4 separate regions of the Homo sapiens genome follow, and regions 1, 2 and 4 are each linked to region 3. Evidence: promoter capture Hi-C in human tissues and cell types (Jung and others, 2019). All regions are on one chromosome and are shown on one strand. The core of a region is centred on a gene start or on the middle of the fragment in contact, and the rest is flanking DNA. Distances in the headings are between cores, read along the strand shown.

Region 1 (5,027 bases), core at 2,273-4,772, 100 kb before region 3:
TAGGCTGGGCGCAGTGGCTCATGGCTGTAATCCCAGCACTTTGGGAGGCCGAGGCGGGTGGATCACCTGAGGTCAGGAGTTCAAGACCAGCCTGGCCAACATGGTGAAATAGCGCCTCTACTAAAAATACCAAAATTAGCCGGGTGTGGTGGCATGTGCCTGTAATCCCAGCTACTGGAGAGGCTGAGGCAAGAGAATCGCTTGAACCTGGGAGGCTGAGGTTGCAGTGAGCCAAGATCATGCCATTGCACTCCAGCCTGGGTGACAGAGCAAGACTCCATCTCAAAAAAAAAAAAAAAAAAAGGATACAGGGAAATACAATGAAGTGTTCTGTAGCAAAGGGCTGAAGATTGTCCAAGTTTCCCAAGACCACGCGGACAGAATCCTGAAAAACATATTTGAAATGACTTTAACACTGTTGAGTCTCAGCCAGTCTTTGTTTATATTTGTCACTGCTACTCACATACCCTATACACTATCAAAACTGAACTATTTGCTGTTCCTTTAACACGTGTTCTGATTCTCCATTTCTTTTTCTTTCTTTCTTTCTTTTTTTGAGAGAGTCGTGCTTTGTGGCCCAGGCTGAAGGGCAGTTGCATGATCTCTGCTCACTGCAATCTCTGCCTCCTGGGCTCAAGTGATCTTCCCACCTCAGCCTCCCCAGTAACTGGGACTACAGGCGTGCACCACCACACCCATCTAATTTTTTTATTTTTTGTAGAGATGTGGTTTCACCATGTTGCCCAGGATGGTCTTGAACTCCTGGGCTCAAGTGCTCTGCCCTCCTCGGTCTCCCAAAGTGCTGGGATTACAGGCATGAGCCACTGCACCCAGCCCGCTTCTCCATTTCTATGCTTTTGCATAGAAAGGGAATTTCTCTTCCTGAAATGCCCTTTCCACCCATCAGCACTTGTCCAAATCCGACCTATCCTTTCAGGCATAGTTCAAAAGGCATCTCCTCCAGAAATCTTTCCCTGATTTACCAAGTTATAATTGTTAGTATCAAACTTCACAGTAGTTAGCCTGGAGTCTTTACTACATTCCACATACAAATGTTTTATATTCCTTACTGGGAGATCTACTTGAAGTAGAATATACACCTGACTTATCTTAGTATCCCTTCTATGGTGTCTACCATCATGAATAATGCATAACAAGTCCTCACTAAATGTACATTGAATGAATGAATAATACTGGTATTAACTGATATACAGTATTTTGCTTTTGTTTAAGTCAAACCTTTTTTTCACTCACTTTAAATTTTAATCGATTAGTCCCTAATTAAGCTATATGCTTATTAGTCTATACTAATTAATTTGGCATCATAAAGACTACTAAATTTCTGTGGGGAAAAAAGTCTCAATTTCAATCCCAGCCTTGTCATTTCACCCTAAGCTTCAGTGTTCTCATGTTTGTGTTCAAAGAAGATAGAAACTGTGGCCAGCGCAGTGGCTCATGCCTGTCATCCCAGCACTCTGCGAGGCCAAGGCAGGTGGACTGCTTGAGCCCGGGAGTTCAAGACTGGCCTGGGCAACATGGCAATACTCCATCTCTACAAAAAATACAAAAATGAGTTGGGTGTGGTGGCACACGCCAGTAGTCCCAGCTACTTGTGAGGCTGAGGTGGGAGGGTCACCTGAACCTGGGAGGTCGAGGCTGCAGTGAGCTATGATTGCATCACTGCCCTGTAGCCTAGGCAACAGAGCAAAACCTTGTCTCAAAAAAAAAAAAAAAAAAAAAAGATATTGTGTCTTGTTTATCTTTGTATTCTCCATAGTAGCACAGTGTCTAGCTTATAATTATACTGGCTAATATTTATTGAGTAATTACTATGGGAAGTGTTACTGTTTTTTGTTTTTTTGAGACAGAATCTCGTTGTGTCACCCAGGCTGGAGTGCAGCCGCACAATCTTGGCTCACTGCAACCTCCACCTCCTGGGTTCAAGCAGTGCTGTGCCTCAACCTCCCAAGTAGCTAGGATTATAGGCACACACCACCACGCCCAGCTAATTTTTTGTATTTTTAGTAGAGATGGGGTTTCGCCATGTTGTCCAGGCAGGTCTCAAATCCCTGAGCTCAGGCAATCTGCCCACCTTGGCCTCCCAAAGTGCTAGGATTACAGGCATGAGCGACCACGCCCGGCCTTTTTTTTTGAGATGAAGTTTTGTTCTTCTTGCCCAGGCTGGAGTCTGGAGTGCAATGGCTTGGTCTCCGCTCACTGCAACCTCTGCCTCCAGGGTTCAAGCGATTCTCCTGCCTCAGCCTCCCAAGTAGCTGGGATTACAGGTGCCTGCCACCACACCTGGCTAACTTTTGTATTTTTGGTAGAGATGGGGTTTCACTATGTTGGCCAGGCTGGTCACAAACTCCTGACCTCAGGTGATCCACCCGCCTTGACCTCCCAAAGTGCTGGGATTACAGGCGTGAGCCACAGAGCCCGGCTGTGTTTTTATACATATTAATTAATTTAACTCTCACAAAAACCCTGTGAGGCAATTCTGTTATTCCCATTTTACAGACGGGGAAACAGACAAAGAGAGGTGAAAAAATGTAGTCTAGGTTACATAACTAGAAATAGCAGGGCCAAGATCTGAACCAAGGCAGCAGGGTTCCAGAGCTCCTAGTCTTAACCCCTAGGCTAGCCTGCTTCTCAGTAAATGTTTTCTTTTTTTGTTTTTGAGATGGAGTCTCACTCTGTTGCCCAGGCTGGAGTGCAGTGGTGCGATCTCGGCTCACTGCAACCTCCGCCTCCCAGGTTCAAGCAATTCTCCTGCCTCAGCCTCCTGAGTAGCTTGGACTACAGGTACGTGCCACCACACCCAGCTAATTTTTGTATTTTTAGTAGAGACGGGGTTTCGCCATGTTGGCCAGTCTGGTCTTAAACTCCTGACCTCAGGTGATCCACCTGCCTCGGCCTCCCAAAGTGCTGGGATTAAAGGTGTGAGCCACAGCGCCCAGCCTCAGTAAGTGTTTTCTAAATGAAGAAAAGAGAATGATAACATCTGACCCCAAACTAGTGAGCATAAGAGAAAGATGCATATGCATATCAAATGCACCTTGGAAATATGACATACGTTGAATGTAAATACTCTCGAGCTACTAATTATTGAGCTACTGTGTGGCAGGCATTGCAGACATCTATTTCTAATCCTCAGTCTTGAAACAGGCCTTCTTTATTAACCTCATTTGACAGGTAAGGAAACAGACTCAGGGAGGGTAGGTACTTTGCCCGAAGTCAAACTGTGAATGGCAGAACACTTCTCATAGTAATTACTCAATAAATATTAGCTATTATAATTAGAAGCTAGACACTATCCTAGTATGGAGACTTCAAATCCAGGTTTGACTGGCTCTAAAGTCTGTGTTCCCTCCTCTCTGTTATGCTTCCGTGAGCTTTTCACTGCTCAGGTTAACTGAAGCAAAGTGAAATAAAGCCTGCTCTGCTCATAATTAAAATAGGTAGAATGGCCGGGTGCAGTGGCTCACACCTGTAATCCCAACACTTTGGGAGGCCGAGGCTGGTGGATCACGAGGTCAAGAGATCGAGACCATCCTGGCCAACATGATGAAACCCCGTCTCTACTAAAAATACAAAAATTAGCTGGGCGTGGTGGTGCACATCGGTAGTCCCAGCTGCTTGGGAGGCTGAGGCAGGAGAATCGCTGGAACTTGGGAGATGGAGGTTGCAGTGAGCCAAAATCGTGCCACTGCACTCCAGCCTGGTGACAGAGCGAAACTCCATCTCAAAAAACAAACAAACAAACAAACAAAAAACCAGGTAGAACATTTTCTTGGTCCTATGTTAAAATAACTTATTCATAATGATATCCTTGAGGGTCCTGCAAGATCCTAATGTATCTTTTAACACTTAGCCAAAGAGGTACCTTCTTAAGGGTATGACTCAGTTTTGGTTTCACAGAGTTTTGTGTTTAAGTGTATTTAATTGCTTTGAAATGTGGAGGCATATGTCTTAAGAAATCACAATAGTCACAAATTACCGAATTGTGAAGTCAGAAGAGGAAAAGCTAGTTTAGACCTCTCATTTTCCAAATGAGGCAATTAAGATCCAAGTTGATATATGATTTGCCAACGGTCACACAGCTAAGTGGTGGCTATGCCAGGACTGGAATCCAGGGCCAACCCCCAGAACTCTAACTCCTTGTCCATTGCTTCCACCAATTTGTAAAGTTGATCACCTGCTCAGTCTTCTTCTGTAGGAAAACCTAAAGCTAGAGGAACCGGGTAGAAAGGAATGAAAATGAAGTCGGAATAAGGCAATTGCAAATGTTGCCAATTTAAATGAAGACACAGCAGCCTTGTCTGTGTATTTACAGTCGAGTTTCCTGAACGTCAAGTACCAGGCAGTGGTTGGGATGGTGAGGTTTCCCAGAGCCCTGGAAGGAGGCAGTCCTCCGGAATCTTTCTCTATGCCAGCTGCAACAAAAGAGAGCTGCCCAAGGCTGGAAACTGGTGAAAACAAAAAGCTCTCAGCCTCAAAGGTGCTGACATTTCAACTAGGAAAACTGAGAAAGAATACAGGCTTTAAATTCCCATGGAAAAACATAAAGTTCCTTTGCAAAGGAGATGTAGCAGGAGGAAGCCAAGTTATCAAGTGGAGGTTGTGACTCAGTTTGTAGGAAATAATTAAAACCTGAATGTGGATGCATCCTTAAAGAGTAACTTTTCCAGAAGTCGTATGCTTCTTTCCCTACCTCCAGCTCCTGGGTGATGACTTCCTTATTTTCTATCTCTTCTCCTCTAGAAGGTAAACAGACAAGAGACAAGTAAGACATGAAGGAAAGCTCTGGAGAGAGTAGACTCTACTAGGGCAAAAATAACACTTCCACTGAGCTAAAGAAACATGACATAAGTAAAACTGTGTAAGCTGACCCAGTGCTCATGGGGAAGAAGTGATCACCTAGGTGGCGTGGTCTGAACATTGGTATAAAATGACTTCTCAACCTGCCAAGACCTGAAATTCCCACTGTGAAAGTTAATCATTGGTTACAACAGTTGTACTTTAAGTGT
Region 2 (4,416 bases), core at 870-3,369, 84 kb after region 3:
AAGCACACCAAATTGTGTAAGTGACTAATCTTATTGTATGTTAAAACTGGCAAATCTTATTGTATTAACATACAATTATATCTCAGTTAAGTTGACATAAAAGTTGTTGAAAGCAAACTTACATTTTGACCTGGATTTTCCCCTTTCAGGAATCTATCTTGTTGAAGAGCTTGTACATGACCCCAAAGATTTTAAGTCCAAGGATGATTGCCACAGCATTGTTTGAAATAGTGAAACAAGACAATAGAACCACATATCCATTAGGGAGAGAATGGTTAGGTCTGTCTTTTAAATTTTTATTTGTTCGTTTGTTTACTGTATTTTTTGTAGAGTCAGAGTCTTGCCATGTTGCGCAGGCTGGTCTCCAACTCCTGAGCTCAAGCAATCCTCTCAGCCTTGGCAACATAGTGAGACCCCCCTCCTACAAAAAATAAATTATCCAGGTGTGGTGGCTGTAGTCTCAGCTACTCAAGAGGCTGTGGTGGGAGGATTGCTCAAGCCCAGGAGTTCAAGGCTGCAGTGAGCTATGATCCTAAGATCATGCCACTGCACTCCAGCCAGAGTGACAGAGAGAGACCCTATCTCTAAAAGAAAGAAAAAGAAAAGAAAATGGTTAATAAGCACAAAAAAATATGTTAAACATCACTGGTCATTATGGAGATGTAAATCAAAACCATAGAGAGATGATTTCATACCCACTAAAATCATTGTGATAAAAAAAAGACCAACAATAACAAGTGTTGGCAAGATGTGGAGAAATTGGCACCCTTATGTGTTTCTGGTGGGAATGTAAAATAGTGTAAATGCTTTGGAAAACAGTTTGGCAGTTCTTCAGTAAATTAAACATAAAATTACCATATGACCCAGAAATTCTACTTCTAGGTATATGTTCAAGAGAACTGAAAGCATCTGGTCATACAAACACTTGTACAAGAACATTCGTAGCAGCATTATTCATAATAGCCAAAAAGTACAAACAACCCAAATGTCCATGAATGGCTAAACAAAATGTAATGTACCCACACAATGGAGTATTATTTAGCCATAAACAGGAAGGAAGTACTGCTTCATGCTACAACATTGATGAACCTTGAAAACCCTGTGCTCAGTGAAAAAAGCATTCATATCACTGCACTTACGTTACATGTCCAGAATAGACAAGTCCATACAGACAGAAGTAGTTAGTGGTTGCCAAGGGCTGGTGGCGTGAGGAATGGGGCCTGACTGCTAATTGGTATGGGGTTTATTATTTGAGGAGTGATAAAAATGTTCCTGAGGAGATAGTGGCTATGCTTGCACAATTTTGTGAGTATACTAAAAATGACCGAATTGTACACTTTATTTATTTTGAGACACAGTCTCGCTCTGTTGCGAAAGCTGTAGTGCAGTGGCGCGATCATGGCTCACTGCAGCCTGGAACTCCTGGGGTCAAGTGATCCTGCCACCTCAGCCTCCCAAGTGGCTGACATTACAGGCAAATGCCATCATGCCTGGCTAACTTTTTTATTTTTAGTAGAGACAGAGTCTCACTCTGTTGCCCAGGCTGGTTTTGAACTCCTGACCTCAAGTGATCCTTCCGCCTCAACCTCCCAAAATGCTGGGATTCAAATGTGAGCCACCACACCTGGCTGAATTGTACACTTTAAAATAATGAATTGTGGTATGTTAATTACATCAATAAAATAGGTAAGGAAGTAACAAAGACAAAATAGAAATTAAGAAAATAGAGGACAGGCGCAATGGCTCACGCCTGTAATCCCAGCACTTTAGGAGCCTGAGGCAGGCGAATCATGAGATCAGGAGTTTGAGAAGAGCCTGGCCAACATGGTGAAACCCTGTCTCTACTAAAAATACAAAAAATTAGCTGGGCGTGGTGGGGGGGCACCTGTAATCCCATCTACTTGGAAGGCTGAGGCAGGAGAATCACTTGAATCTGGGAGGCAGAGGTTGCAGTGACCTGAGATCGCGCCATTGTACTCCAGCCTGGGCAACAATGCGAGACTCTGTCTAAAAAAAAAAAAAAGAAAAGAAAAAAGAAAATAGATAAAGCTAAAATAGAATACACAAAGTTGAAAGCTGGCTCTTTGAATAAACTAATAAGAATGACAAATCTCCAGAGAGACTGGTCAAGAAAATAAGGTTTGCACAAGCAGACAATATAATGAATGAAAACAGCAATAAACAGACACAGCAGAAATTTAAAAATAATGAGCATGCAGTAGGTGCAATTTTATGGCAATAAATTTGAAAATTTAGGAGAAATAGACAATTTCCTAGAAAATAAAAGATGCACTAAAACTGACCTAAGACACAACAGAAAACATGAATTGATAAGTATTTTAAAATTTTATTTTATTTTTGAGATGGAGTCTTGCTCTGCCGCCCAGGCTGGAGTACAGTGGCGTGACCTCGGCTCACTGTAACCTCCACCTCCTGGGTTCAAGCGATTCTCCTGCCTCAGCCTCCCAAGTAGCTGGGACTACAGGCGCCTGCCACCACACACAGCTAATTTTTTGTATTTTTAGTAGAGACAGGGTTTCACCATGTTGGCCAGGATGGTCACCATGTTGGCCAGGATGGTCTCCATCTCTTGACCTCGTGATCCACCCGCCTCGGCCTCCCAAAGTGCTGGGATTACAGGTGTGAGCCACCATGCCCAGGCTTTTTTTTTTTTTTTTTTTTGAGACAGTGTCTTGCTCTATCACCCAAGCTGCTGGAATGCAGTGGCATGATCAGGGCTCGCTGCAGCCTCAAACTCCTGGGTTCAAGTGATCTTCCCACCTCAGCCCTGCAGAGTAGCTGGGACTACAGGCATGCGCCACTGTGCCTGGCTAATTTTTGTATTTTTTGTAGATATGGGGTTTTGCCATGTTACCCTGGCTGGTCTCAAACTCCTTGGCTCACGCGATCCACCTGCCTTGGCCTTGCAAAGTGTTGAGATTACAGTCATGAGCTGCTGCGTTCGGCTTAAAAGTTTTTCAACATTTTTGACAACAACATCTGGATTCTCACATTCTCCCTCCATGAAAGAGAAAATGAGGAACTATTCTCTCTCTTCCATGGTGGAACACTCCAGGTACTCCCAGCCTGGAAGGCCAGACCCTCCAACTTTCCCTGAATGACCCCCTCACCAAGAAGTGTGCATTGAATGTGGGACTGACCACACATGAGGTCAGTTTGTTGGTCTATCTAGACTGCCTTTGGACTTCCCTTGCCTCTGATCTCATTCCTTTAATTAACAAACATTTACTGAGGGCCTACTGTGTTCAGGCCCCAGGCCAGGTTCTGAGGACATTGTGGAGAACAAAATACATTCCCTGACCTCATGGAGCTTTCAGTCTCATGGTAGAGAGATCCACAAGCTAATTGCAGGTTATTTGACTGTCTGCTGAATGAATGCATTAGTGGAAGAATGAATGAGTAAAAGCTACATTGTCCAAATTCCTGTCCTGTCAGAATTGATGTTGACGTTCTTTTTTTTTTTTTTTTTTGAGATGGTCACTTACTTTAACAACAGTACATATACCATGTTATCACCATGAAATGTAAATTCAGGTTAGACAAGAAAATTTCACAAATGTAATAACATTCTATAGTTTATAAAAGTTTGGGTATACTGTCTGGCCAAACCAGCTTGCTCATAAGTCATTAATCAATTCCATTATAGGTAATTTGATTAGTTTAATGTTTGTAATTCTTATGGAAAAAATAAGCAATGCACACATTTAAAAAGTGCTCATTGGGCTGGGCACGGTAGCTCATGCCCGTAATCCCAGCACTTTGAGTGGCTGAGGCCCAGCGGATCACGAGGTCAAGATCGAGACCATCCTGGACAACATGGCGAAACCCTGTCTTTATTAAAAATATAAAAATTAGCCAAGGATGGTGGTGTGCACCTGTAGTCCCAGCTACTCAGGAGGCTGAGACAGGAGAAGTGCTTGAACCCGGGAGATGGAGGTTGCAGTGAGCTGAGATCACACCACTGCACTCCAGCCTGGTGACAGAGCGTGACTCCGTCTCAAAAAAAATAAAATAAAAGGTGCTCATTTACCTTTGCATGAGTGCTTAAATACATATTTCTATCTCAAGATGACATTTAAAAATTATTCAGATATAACAGCAGCAAAAATATAATTCTGCAATTACAAAATAACTAAACTAGAATCCATAAGTTATTCTCATGTTCACAACTGTGATTCTTTAATAAATACCACTACTATGCAGCTATAATGTAAGCTTTCTAGATTTGGTTTAAACACACACACATAGATACTGTCAGTTGTGGGAAGCTTTACAAGTTTTATTCCATGCACTTTTTAGACAGAGTTCTGAAAGAGCCAGCCAGTCCACAAGACAGGCAGAAAAAAAGTTAAATTAACTAGGGCAAATAGGACTCTTATATAACATCCGAAACAT
Region 3 (4,700 bases), core at 1,637-4,136:
GGCAGGGACCTGGGGAGTTATTGTTAAATAAAGTTTCTGTTTGAAATGATGAAAAGGTTCTGGAAATGGGTAGTGGTGATGGTTAATTAATAATCTGTGTATTTCTACACTGCTTGTTCCCCTTTCTTTTTCTTTTCCTTTTTTCCCTTTCTTTTCTTCCTTCCTTTCTCTCCACCTTCCTTCTTTCTTTCTCTTTTCCCAGCTCTTATTATGGACACCTTTTTTTTTTTTTTTTTGAGATGAGGTCTTGCTCTTGTCCCCCAGGCTGGAGTGCAATGGCATGATCTCGGCTCACTGCAACCTCTGCCTCCTGGGTTCAAGTGATTCTGCTGCCTCAACCTCTGAGTAGCTGGGATTACAGGTGCCTGCCACCATGAGCGGCTATTTTTTGTATTTTTAGTAGAGACAGGGTTTCACCATGTTGGCCAGGCTGGTCTCGAACTCCTGACCTCAGGTAATCCACCTGCCTTGGCCTCCGAAAGTGCTGGGATTACAGGCATGAGCCACCGCGTCCAGCCCACTTTTAAAAAAATTGTGGTAAAATACACATAACATAAACTTAGCATGTGGAGTATGCAGTTCAGTGGCATTCAGTACATCCATATTGTGCAACATCACCACCATTCATCTCTAGAACTCTTCATCTGACAAATCCGAAACTCGGTCCCCATTAAATACCAACTATCCCTTCCCCTCTCTCATTCTACTCTTTTTATATTAATTTTGTTTGTTTGTTTGTTTTTTGTTTTTAGAGATGGAGTCTCGCTCTGTCACCCAGGCTGGAGTGCAGTGGCACAATCTTGGCTCACTGCAACCTCCACCTCCTGGGTTCAAGCAATTCTCCTGCCTCAGCCTCCTGAGTAGCTAGGACTACAGGTGCACGCTGCCACACCCAGCTAATTTTTGTTTTTTTGTATTTTAGTAGAGATGGGGTTTCACCGTGTTGCCCAGGCTGGTCTTGAACTCCTGAACTCAGGCAATCCGCCTGCCTTGGCCCCGCAAAGTGCTAGGATTACAAGCGTGAGCCACCACGCCCATGCCCAGCCTTTTTTTTTTTTTTTTTTTTTTTAAATCAGAGTCTCGATGTCTCCCAGGCTGGAGAGTGCAGTGGTGCAATCTCAGCTCACTACCATCTCTGCCTCCCAGGTTCAAGCAGTTCATCTGCCTGAGCCTCCCCAGTAGCTGGGATTACAGGCATGCACCACCATGTGTGGCTAATTTTGTATTTTGAGTAGAGATGGAGTTTCACCATGTTGGCCAGGCTGGCCTTGATCTCCTGACCTCAGGTGATCTGCCCACTTCGGCCTCCCAAAGTGCTGGGATTATAGGCGTGAGCCACAGCGCCCGGCCCCTAGTCAGAATTTTTGATGGAAAAGAAATGGCAGGGAGAGGGCCAACAGGAGGGACTTAAGTTGAATATTCAAAACTATTTCACAGGAGGACTTAGACTTCTGGAATACCAAACCTGAAAATTGTACTCAACCCCTTTATTTCCTACAGCTCAGAGAGGGTCAGGGAGGCATCCGAGGCCACACAGCCCATTGGTGGGACAACCCGAAAACACCTTGCCTTTCCTGCCCCACCCTGGGGCTTGGTTCCCCACTCAACACTGCCTCTTCTCCTTCCCCTTCCCCTCACTTCCTCCAGTCCACTGCCCAGCCCCTTCCTCACCGAGGCCTCCTGCACTGGGGGACTGCCACTCACCTTGGCCCCACGCCCTACACCCCCATATCGAGTCAGGGCAATGGTGCCTTCAAGTTTGATGCCCTGAGTCTGTAGCTCCTTAAAGTCTTCTTCCGCGCCCCGGTTGGCATAGACGAGGAGGCCCTAGTCCCAAGAGGGGGTGATCCTTAGAGCTGGGCCCAGCGAAGTGTGGGTGGGGAAGGGGGGTGGAAGTTTGCATGGCAGGAGGGAGAATTTAGATTCTGTTCCCCCACCTCACCCAGAGCTTGTAAGCTCCCCAAGAACAGTCACCCCTCATTTCCTCCATGTCTGGGTGCCCTGTAACAGACCTGGCCTTGAGCAGAGCCACTAGTGTTTGTTGAATGACTGATGGAGGAAAGGAGCAGCGATGGAGTGTCCCGGTGAGTAAATTCCGGAGGGCGCGCTGTGCCCCAGTTGAGGCACGTTCCCTGGGTCAGGGTGGGGAGAACCCTGGGTGGAACCAAGGGAGCTGGGCCAGAGCAGTAGGGGGGGTTCTGGGCCCACCTGTGGGGTTCCAGAAGGAGCATAGGCAGCATAGGGTTGTACCACATCTGGCCCCCCTTGCTCCCCGGTCACGTTCTCCTCAGTCCGGTGGCAGGAGTGGATGATGCCCCCAGTGGGGCCCACTGTTGGAGGGGTGGCAGTATCATGGCTGGGCCCAGCAGCTCCCCACCCCCGGGCATTCCCAAGACTGGGCAGGACCTCACCGATGTCCACGACGTTGGGCTGCTCCTGGCTAGGGAAGGACAGCAGCACTTCGTACGTGGAGGCCTCGGCCGAGTCCAGGCCTGACTCTGGGTCCTTCCAGCGCTGCAGCAGCAGCTGCACCAGGTCCTCATCCCGAGGGCTGGAGGCCAGGTGTGGCTCCCTGGAGAGTTCTCTGCAGGGTGGGCAGAGGGAGGGGCAGGGCCAGCATCAGGGAGGGGGCCTCTGGCAAACGGAGGAGCAGATGGCCCCACTTCTCACCTGAGGTTCTCCCGGATCCTGTGGGCATCCAGCTGCCCCATGACGGTCTCCAGGATCTCCAGGTCCAGGTCCTGGGGGGCCAGTGAGTTGGCTTTTTTGGGGATGGCAAAGTGGCCGAGGATGATCCCCAGCCCCAAGAGGGCAGCAGCCCCCAGCCCCAGCCCCAACACCTTCGTCCACTGCATCCTGCGGACTCTTGGCCAGCTGGGGTAGGACTGGTCTATAGGTTATTCCCTATAGAGGGGGTGTTGTGCCTGGTTAAACATTACCCCATGGGTGGCACTGCCCTTTGACCCCCAGCTGGCAGGGAGAGTGAGGGAACATCCCGCAGTGAGAGCCAGGAGCCATCCACATCCACCACATCCTGCACCATTTGCCTGGAATGGCTCTCCAAGGGCAGCAAGGTCACCCAGGGACACTGAAGCCGAGAGGGAAGGGGCTCATCCAGGGTGTCCCAGGAAAACAGAGGCCAAGCCAGGGCTGGAACTCAGAGCTCCTGTGTTCACAGCAGGGCCGTGCCCACTGCCCACCCTCACTGCCTCTGCCTCCCTCCAAGGCAGCCGATCTACAGCATACCCAGCCCTACCTGCCTGAGCAGATTTTGAGTTGAGATCCCCCTTCTTGCTGGACGTAAGCTGTGTGACCTTGGGCAATCCACTCAGCTTCTCTACACCTGTTTTCTTTTTTTTTTTTCTAGACTGTGTCTTCCACTGACACCCAGGCTGGAGTCCAGTGGTGTGATCTCGGCTCACTGCAACCTCCACCTCCCGGGCTCAAGTGATTCTCCTGCATCGGCCTCCCGAGTAGCTGGGATTACGGGTGTGCACCACCATGTCCAGCTAATTTTTGTATTTTTAGTAGAGATGGGGTTTCACCATGTTGGCCAGGCTGGTCTCAAACTCCTGATCTCAGGTGATCACCCGCCTCAGCCTCCCAAAGTGCTGGGATGACAGGAGTGAGCCACCGTGCCGGCTATGGTGTCATTTTCATTAAACAATATGGCATCTGTAGAAATAGCTAGTGCAGTGTCTGACATGTAGTGGGAGCTCATCAATTTTAACTACTCATCCCTCATCTGACTCTGGAAAATGTAAGGCCTAGAGCTAAAGGAAGAAGGAGGACCCAGAAGAACTCTCTGTGTCTATCCTGAAGGGAGCCCAGCGATACGAGGAATGGGAGTCCTGGGAAGGGAGGCTGTCCCAGAGGAGGCAGCAGGGGAAGCCCATGCCTCCCTGGCGAGGTGACTTCCTCTTCTATCCCCTGGCTCTGCCTGGACTCCGTCATCCACCCTCCTATTTATCCATCCACCCATCCCTCCATTCACTTATTCATTCCTTCCTTTATACATGCAAGCACTGTTCATTCTGTGCTATACTAGAGCCATGCAAGGCTGTGGGGAAGCAAAATCCAGCAGGCGAGGCAGACAGGCTTTAGGTTCAGCCATGTGGTAAGTGCCCTGTAGAGGGAGGATCACCATGCTCCCAGTGAAAGAGTGAGGAGTTCTGACTAGGAGGGAACATCTGAGGGGGTCCTCCAAGGCTGAAAAGGTGTTCCAGCATTTGCAAGGGCTGAGAGGGAAGTGAGACCCCAAGTATGCCATACACATACTGAGCCTCTTCCAGACCTCACGGAGAGCCAGGAGGGGCTGGGGGGGTCCCTAGGGACTTGAGCTGGGACTTCTCCCACCCTCCCATGGCCTATCCTGCCTTGACTCTGCCTCGCAGGTTGCAGCCCATGGATGGGCTCAAAGATGCCTGCAGAGCTTGGGGGCTGGATCAGGGCAGAGCGTGTGTGTGTGTGTGTGTGTGTGTGCACGTGCATGTGTGTGTGTGTGATTTCACAGACCCCTCTCAGAGCAGCCTCCTTCCTGCTCACAACCCCATTTTGCTGGCACCACCATCTCTTGTGCTGCTGGTGAGGAGGTTCAGCATGGGAGGACTAGGGGTGGCTGGGAAGGGATGTCATGTGATCAGTGACTTCAGGGAGGTGCACCAGGAAGCCACAGTTCTTGGCAACGTGATTATCGACGC
Region 4 (4,340 bases), core at 353-2,852, 130 kb before region 3:
TCCTGCACCTTGGAGTTCATTAGATTCCCTGCCTATTAACATTGGGGTTGTTTTATTTAACCGCTGAGTCTTGATTTCTTCATCCATGTGATGGATTTCTTAAGCCCCATCTCCCTGGATAATTCTGAGACTTACATGGTACGGAGTAGATGTGCTAAGTGTTTGTCATTCTCTTGGTTGACTGGCAAGAGAGCCTTGAGCTTGGGACTCAGTGGCAGAGGTGGCTGGGCTGAGAAGGGCATTTCAGTGTGGGGGGGCGGGGATCTCAATGGGGCCTGGTTTGGGATGTTGGGAAGGGAGCGCAGCCTCTGGGTTGGGGGAGAGTTGGATGAGCGTGCCGTGCAGGTGAGGGTGGGCAGGCAGGATGCCTAAGGGGGCACTGGGCCTACCCTGCTTGCTTTGAGCCCACCTGCGTTCTTCTCTTGCAGGTTCATCTATGAATTCGAGCACTTCAATGGTGTGGCTGAGCTGCTGGAGATCCTAGGAAGGTGATTCTCCCTGGGCCTCAGCTGGAGCTCAGGATTCTGGAAGGAGGGACTGGGGCCAGGTCACCTGAGCCCTCTTCCTCTCTTCTGCCTCCTCCTCAGCATCATCAATGGCTTTGCGCTGCCCCTGAAGACGGAGCACAAGCAGTTCCTGGTTCGCGTCCTGATCCCCCTGCACTCTGTCAAGTCGCTGTCTGTCTTCCATGCCCAGGTGAGGCCCAGGCCTGTCCCTGCTGCAGCAGGAGCTCCAGACAGTCAGGGCAGCCAGTGGGTCCTGGAGGTCAGATCCTCCAGGGATCCTATCTCACCTTCTTTGTCTTTATAATTCTGTTCCATCTACCTTAGAAAATTCCCACTGGCGCTTTAAGGCTAACCTCAGATATCAGCTCTGTGAAGCCAGGCTTTTCTTCTCTACCCTCCCTTGGCAGAATTACATTCTTCTCCATCTATATTCCCAAATATTTGGATACACAAATCTATTATGGGAGATTTTGATACACAATTTTTTTTTTTGAGACAAAACCGTACTCTGTTGCCTCAGCTGGAGAGCAGTGGTATGAACATGGCTCACTGAAGCCTCTACCTGCTGGGCTCAAGCAGTCCTCCCTTCTCAGCCTCCCGAGTAGCTGGGACCACAGATGTATGTGCCACATGCCTGGCTAATTAAAAAAAATTTTTTTTTTGTAGAGACAGTGTCTTGCTATGTTACCTAGGCTGGTCTCAAACTCCCAGGCTCAAGTGATTCTGCTGCCTCGGCCTCCCAAAGTGCTTGGATTACAGGCGTGAGCCACCACACTAGCCATATTATGGAACCTTTTGCAAAATTTATAAAGATGAGTTTGTTGACTGTCCCCACTCCCCGCGAGATCAGAGTTGTATTCCCAGCACACTGAATGTGATGCCTGGTACATCCTAGGCAGGTGATAAATGCTTGGTGAATAAGAAAGTAACAGGCCGTGGGTGAGCAGTATTTGGCATTCTGTCCTGGACAGCAAGTCCTTGGCGCCTGGTGCCTTCCTGACCTGTCTTCCTTCCCTCCACCTGTCACCCCCTGCAGCTGGCATACTGTGTGGTGCAGTTCCTGGAGAAGGATGCCACTCTGACAGAGCACGTGAGTACCTCTGGGGGCTAAGGCAGCCTCTCACCTCTGCAGGCGTGACTCCTGTCTCATCTCCCACAGGTGATCCGGGGGCTGCTCAAATACTGGCCAAAAACCTGCACCCAGAAGGAGGTATGAAGAAGGGCTTTGATGCCCGCCAGAGGGAGGCTGGGAGGGCTCGGCCTCTAGAAGGCAGTCAGGTGTGTGTATGTGTAGGGGGAGATGTGAGCTGCTGCCCCTCTGTCCCTACTCCCCTCCCCAACCCACCCAGGTGATGTTTCTGGGGGAGATGGAAGAGATTCTTGATGTCATCGAGCCCTCCCAGTTTGTGAAGATCCAGGAGCCCCTTTTTAAGCAGGTGGCTCGCTGTGTTTCCAGCCCCCATTTCCAGGTATGAGGCAGGACAGGCGGGGATGGGAGCAGGGCTGGCCTGGAAAGGTTGGGTAGCTGACCTAATAAAGCTCCCTTTGCCCTCAGTTTCTCCTCCAATCCCGGGTCTGGTAATGGGGAGATGCTGGACTTAGGGTCAGGAGACCTAGGGTGAAGCCTCGGACCTGCCTTCCACTGGCTGAGGGGCCTTGAGCAAATCACTGCACCACTCTGATTCTGATTAAGCTTCCGCAGCTGTAAAATGGGCCAACAACCTCTTCACAGGGTGGGGATAAGGATGGAAGAGATTGTGAGTGTAAACATGTTTGGTAAACTGAAGTGTGATCCAGAATGTGATGGAGGACTGTTATCACTTTTCCCCTTTTGCTAGTGGCCTTAGATTTCATTAGACTCGCTTTGGGATGCAGCCAGGCTTCCCCGCACCAACCCAGCTAACTAACTCATGTTCTGCTGCAAGCATGTGCAGACTTCCTCCCGTTCTTATGGGCCATAACCCAGTGGAAGTCAAGTCTTCCTCACAGTGATTCTGGCACTTCGGTTCATTAAACACCTAAAAGTCTAGTATCTCATTTGATTCTTATAACATCCTGTTGAGATAGGTATTATTAGCCCATTTTACAGATGAGAAAACTGAGGCTGGGAGGTTAAATGCCTCTCCCAAGGTCACATGGCATAGTAGAGTCTGTAGTGGTTAGGATTCACCCCGCAGCATTGGATTCCGTATCTAGAACTCTTTTCCCTTCAACACTGTTGCTTCCTCCAGGGCTCAGATAAGCCCTGAAGGTGGGGTGTGTGAAGGTCAGGGGGCCTGGGCGTTGAGGTAGTGATGGACACCAGACCTTGCACACAGAGAGAAGCCACTGCCAGTTAATCACTCTGCCATCTTGTCTGCCCCAGGTTGCAGAGCGGGCTCTGTATTTCTGGAACAATGAGTATATCCTAAGCCTCATTGAGGACAACTGCCACACTGTGCTGCCTGCTGTGTTTGGGACCCTCTACCAAGTCTCCAAGGAGCACTGGAACCAGTGAGTGCCAGGCCATGACCTAACTCACAGAAACTGGGACCAGGGCCAGCCAGTCCAGACCCGACCCCAGGGTTACTCCTAGCTGGAGAATATCAGAGAAAGCATCAAAAGATGGCCCAGGGGTGGTGAAAAGGACAGGAAAGTGGGCAGTGCTTGTGTTCAGGTGGAATGCTGTATGTGAAGGGCAGGGAAAGGGAGAGGTGGGCAAACCAAAGCTGTTTCATCTCCTCATCCCTCCTTGACACTGCCAAGAACCATCGTATCACTGATCTACAATGTGCTCAAGACCTTCATGGAGATGAATGGGAAGCTGTTTGATGAGCTCACAGCCTCCTACAAGCTGGAAAAGCAGCAGTGAGTGTTGGGGGCTGGGCGTGGGGGAAGGGAGAAGAGCAGGGAGGAGTCAGACCCCCATGGCTGGAGGGAACCCGAGGACTACCCCAAACTCTGTCTGATCAGATGCTGCAAGACTGTCCATGCTCCTGCCATCCTATGCCTGACTGTCTGCCCCTGTATCCTCCCGTCATTCTTCGAGTAGCTCAGACTTGTTCTGACTCCCTGTAGCTTCCTACAGAAGCCAGAACCACTCAGGCCCCACCCGTCATCTTCTCTGTGACTGCAGGCTGGGATCTGTCTGTCCTCTGCTCTCTTCCCTCAGTAGAGGGTTTTTATGGAGTCACAGAACAAAAATGGTTCCATGCCTTCCCTTTGCCGGTGGGGTGGTAGTGAGGGAGTCTGGACTGTGAGGGAGTCTGGACTGTGGGGGGCCCCAGGAAAGGGAGCTGCCTCACCCTCTCTCCCCAGGGAGCAGCAGAAGGCCCAGGAGCGTCAGGAGTTATGGCAAGGTCTGGAGGAGCTGCGGCTACGCCGGCTACAGGGGACCCAGGGGGCCAAGGAGGCCCCCCTCCAGCGGCTTACACCCCAGGTGGCCGCCAGTGGGGGTCAGAGCTAGACAGCACCTCAGAAGGGGAAAAGCTAAACCCAGAGCTGTCAGTCCCTCTATCCCTTCTCCTGTCCAGGGGCCCAGAGAGAAACACACCTACCCCTGGCCTTGCCAGAGTGGCTTCTGAGGACTCCCTGCCCAGCCCAGCTTTCACTGGGGGGAGACGAGGAGAGGCAATGGTGGTCTTGGCAACAGAATGCTCAGCCCCTCGTGGCAGGACTTGACAAGGGCAAGCTTGACCAGGAAGCTGCCATCAGGGATCTTCCCCTGCCCCGCAAAGCTAGGCTCCAGCTGCAGGCGGGCTCCCACCCTCTGCTCCTGGCCTTGGGCAAGGGCACTCAGCGCCTCGCCTGCCCCTGCCTTGGCCAATGCGAGGTCCTTCCTTATCCCCACCATGG

Evidence for each region. The method cuts DNA at HindIII sites, captures the fragments that hold promoters and counts their contacts. A contact is called where the count stands out against the background at its distance.
Region 1: a contact is called between a fragment that was not itself captured here and the fragment with the promoter of NAALADL1 in region 3, in 2 of the 25 tissues and cell types used here (bladder and spleen).
Region 2: a contact is called between a fragment that was not itself captured here and the fragment with the promoter of NAALADL1 in region 3, in 3 of the 25 tissues and cell types used here (adrenal gland, aorta and hippocampus).
Region 4: a contact is called between a fragment that was not itself captured here and the fragment with the promoter of NAALADL1 in region 3, in 2 of the 25 tissues and cell types used here (mesenchymal stem cells and psoas muscle).

Annotation. Positions count from the first base shown.
Region 1 is chr11:64,950,046-64,955,072 of GRCh38, forward strand. It overlaps MAJIN (membrane anchored junction protein), which reads right to left. Exons shown (of 11, transcript NM_001037225.3): 4 at 4,712-4,757; 5 at 310-385. Among named protein-coding and RNA genes, the nearest start is that of GPHA2, 17 kb to the left of the region's middle. The HindIII fragment of the contact is 9,200 bases long and covers 1-5,027 here.
Region 2 is chr11:65,140,917-65,145,332 of GRCh38, forward strand. It overlaps the pseudogene HIGD1AP10. Among named protein-coding and RNA genes, the nearest start is that of SYVN1, 8.6 kb to the left of the region's middle. The HindIII fragment of the contact is 4,285 bases long and covers 1-4,262 here.
Region 3 is chr11:65,055,667-65,060,366 of GRCh38, forward strand. It overlaps NAALADL1 (N-acetylated alpha-linked acidic dipeptidase like 1), which reads right to left and starts at 2,887. Exons shown (of 18, transcript NM_005468.3): 1 at 2,671-2,887; 2 at 2,412-2,584; 3 at 2,209-2,330; 4 at 1,705-1,827. The coding sequence starts at 2,855. The HindIII fragment of the contact is 22,908 bases long and covers 1-4,700 here.
Region 4 is chr11:64,929,894-64,934,233 of GRCh38, forward strand. It overlaps PPP2R5B (protein phosphatase 2 regulatory subunit B'beta), which reads left to right. Exons shown (of 14, transcript NM_006244.4): 7 at 429-488; 8 at 588-696; 9 at 1,543-1,596; 10 at 1,666-1,716; 11 at 1,856-1,975; 12 at 2,872-2,999; 13 at 3,252-3,353; 14 at 3,804-4,340. The coding sequence ends at 3,951. Among named protein-coding and RNA genes, the nearest start is that of GPHA2, 3.8 kb to the right of the region's middle. The HindIII fragment of the contact is 3,170 bases long and covers 18-3,187 here.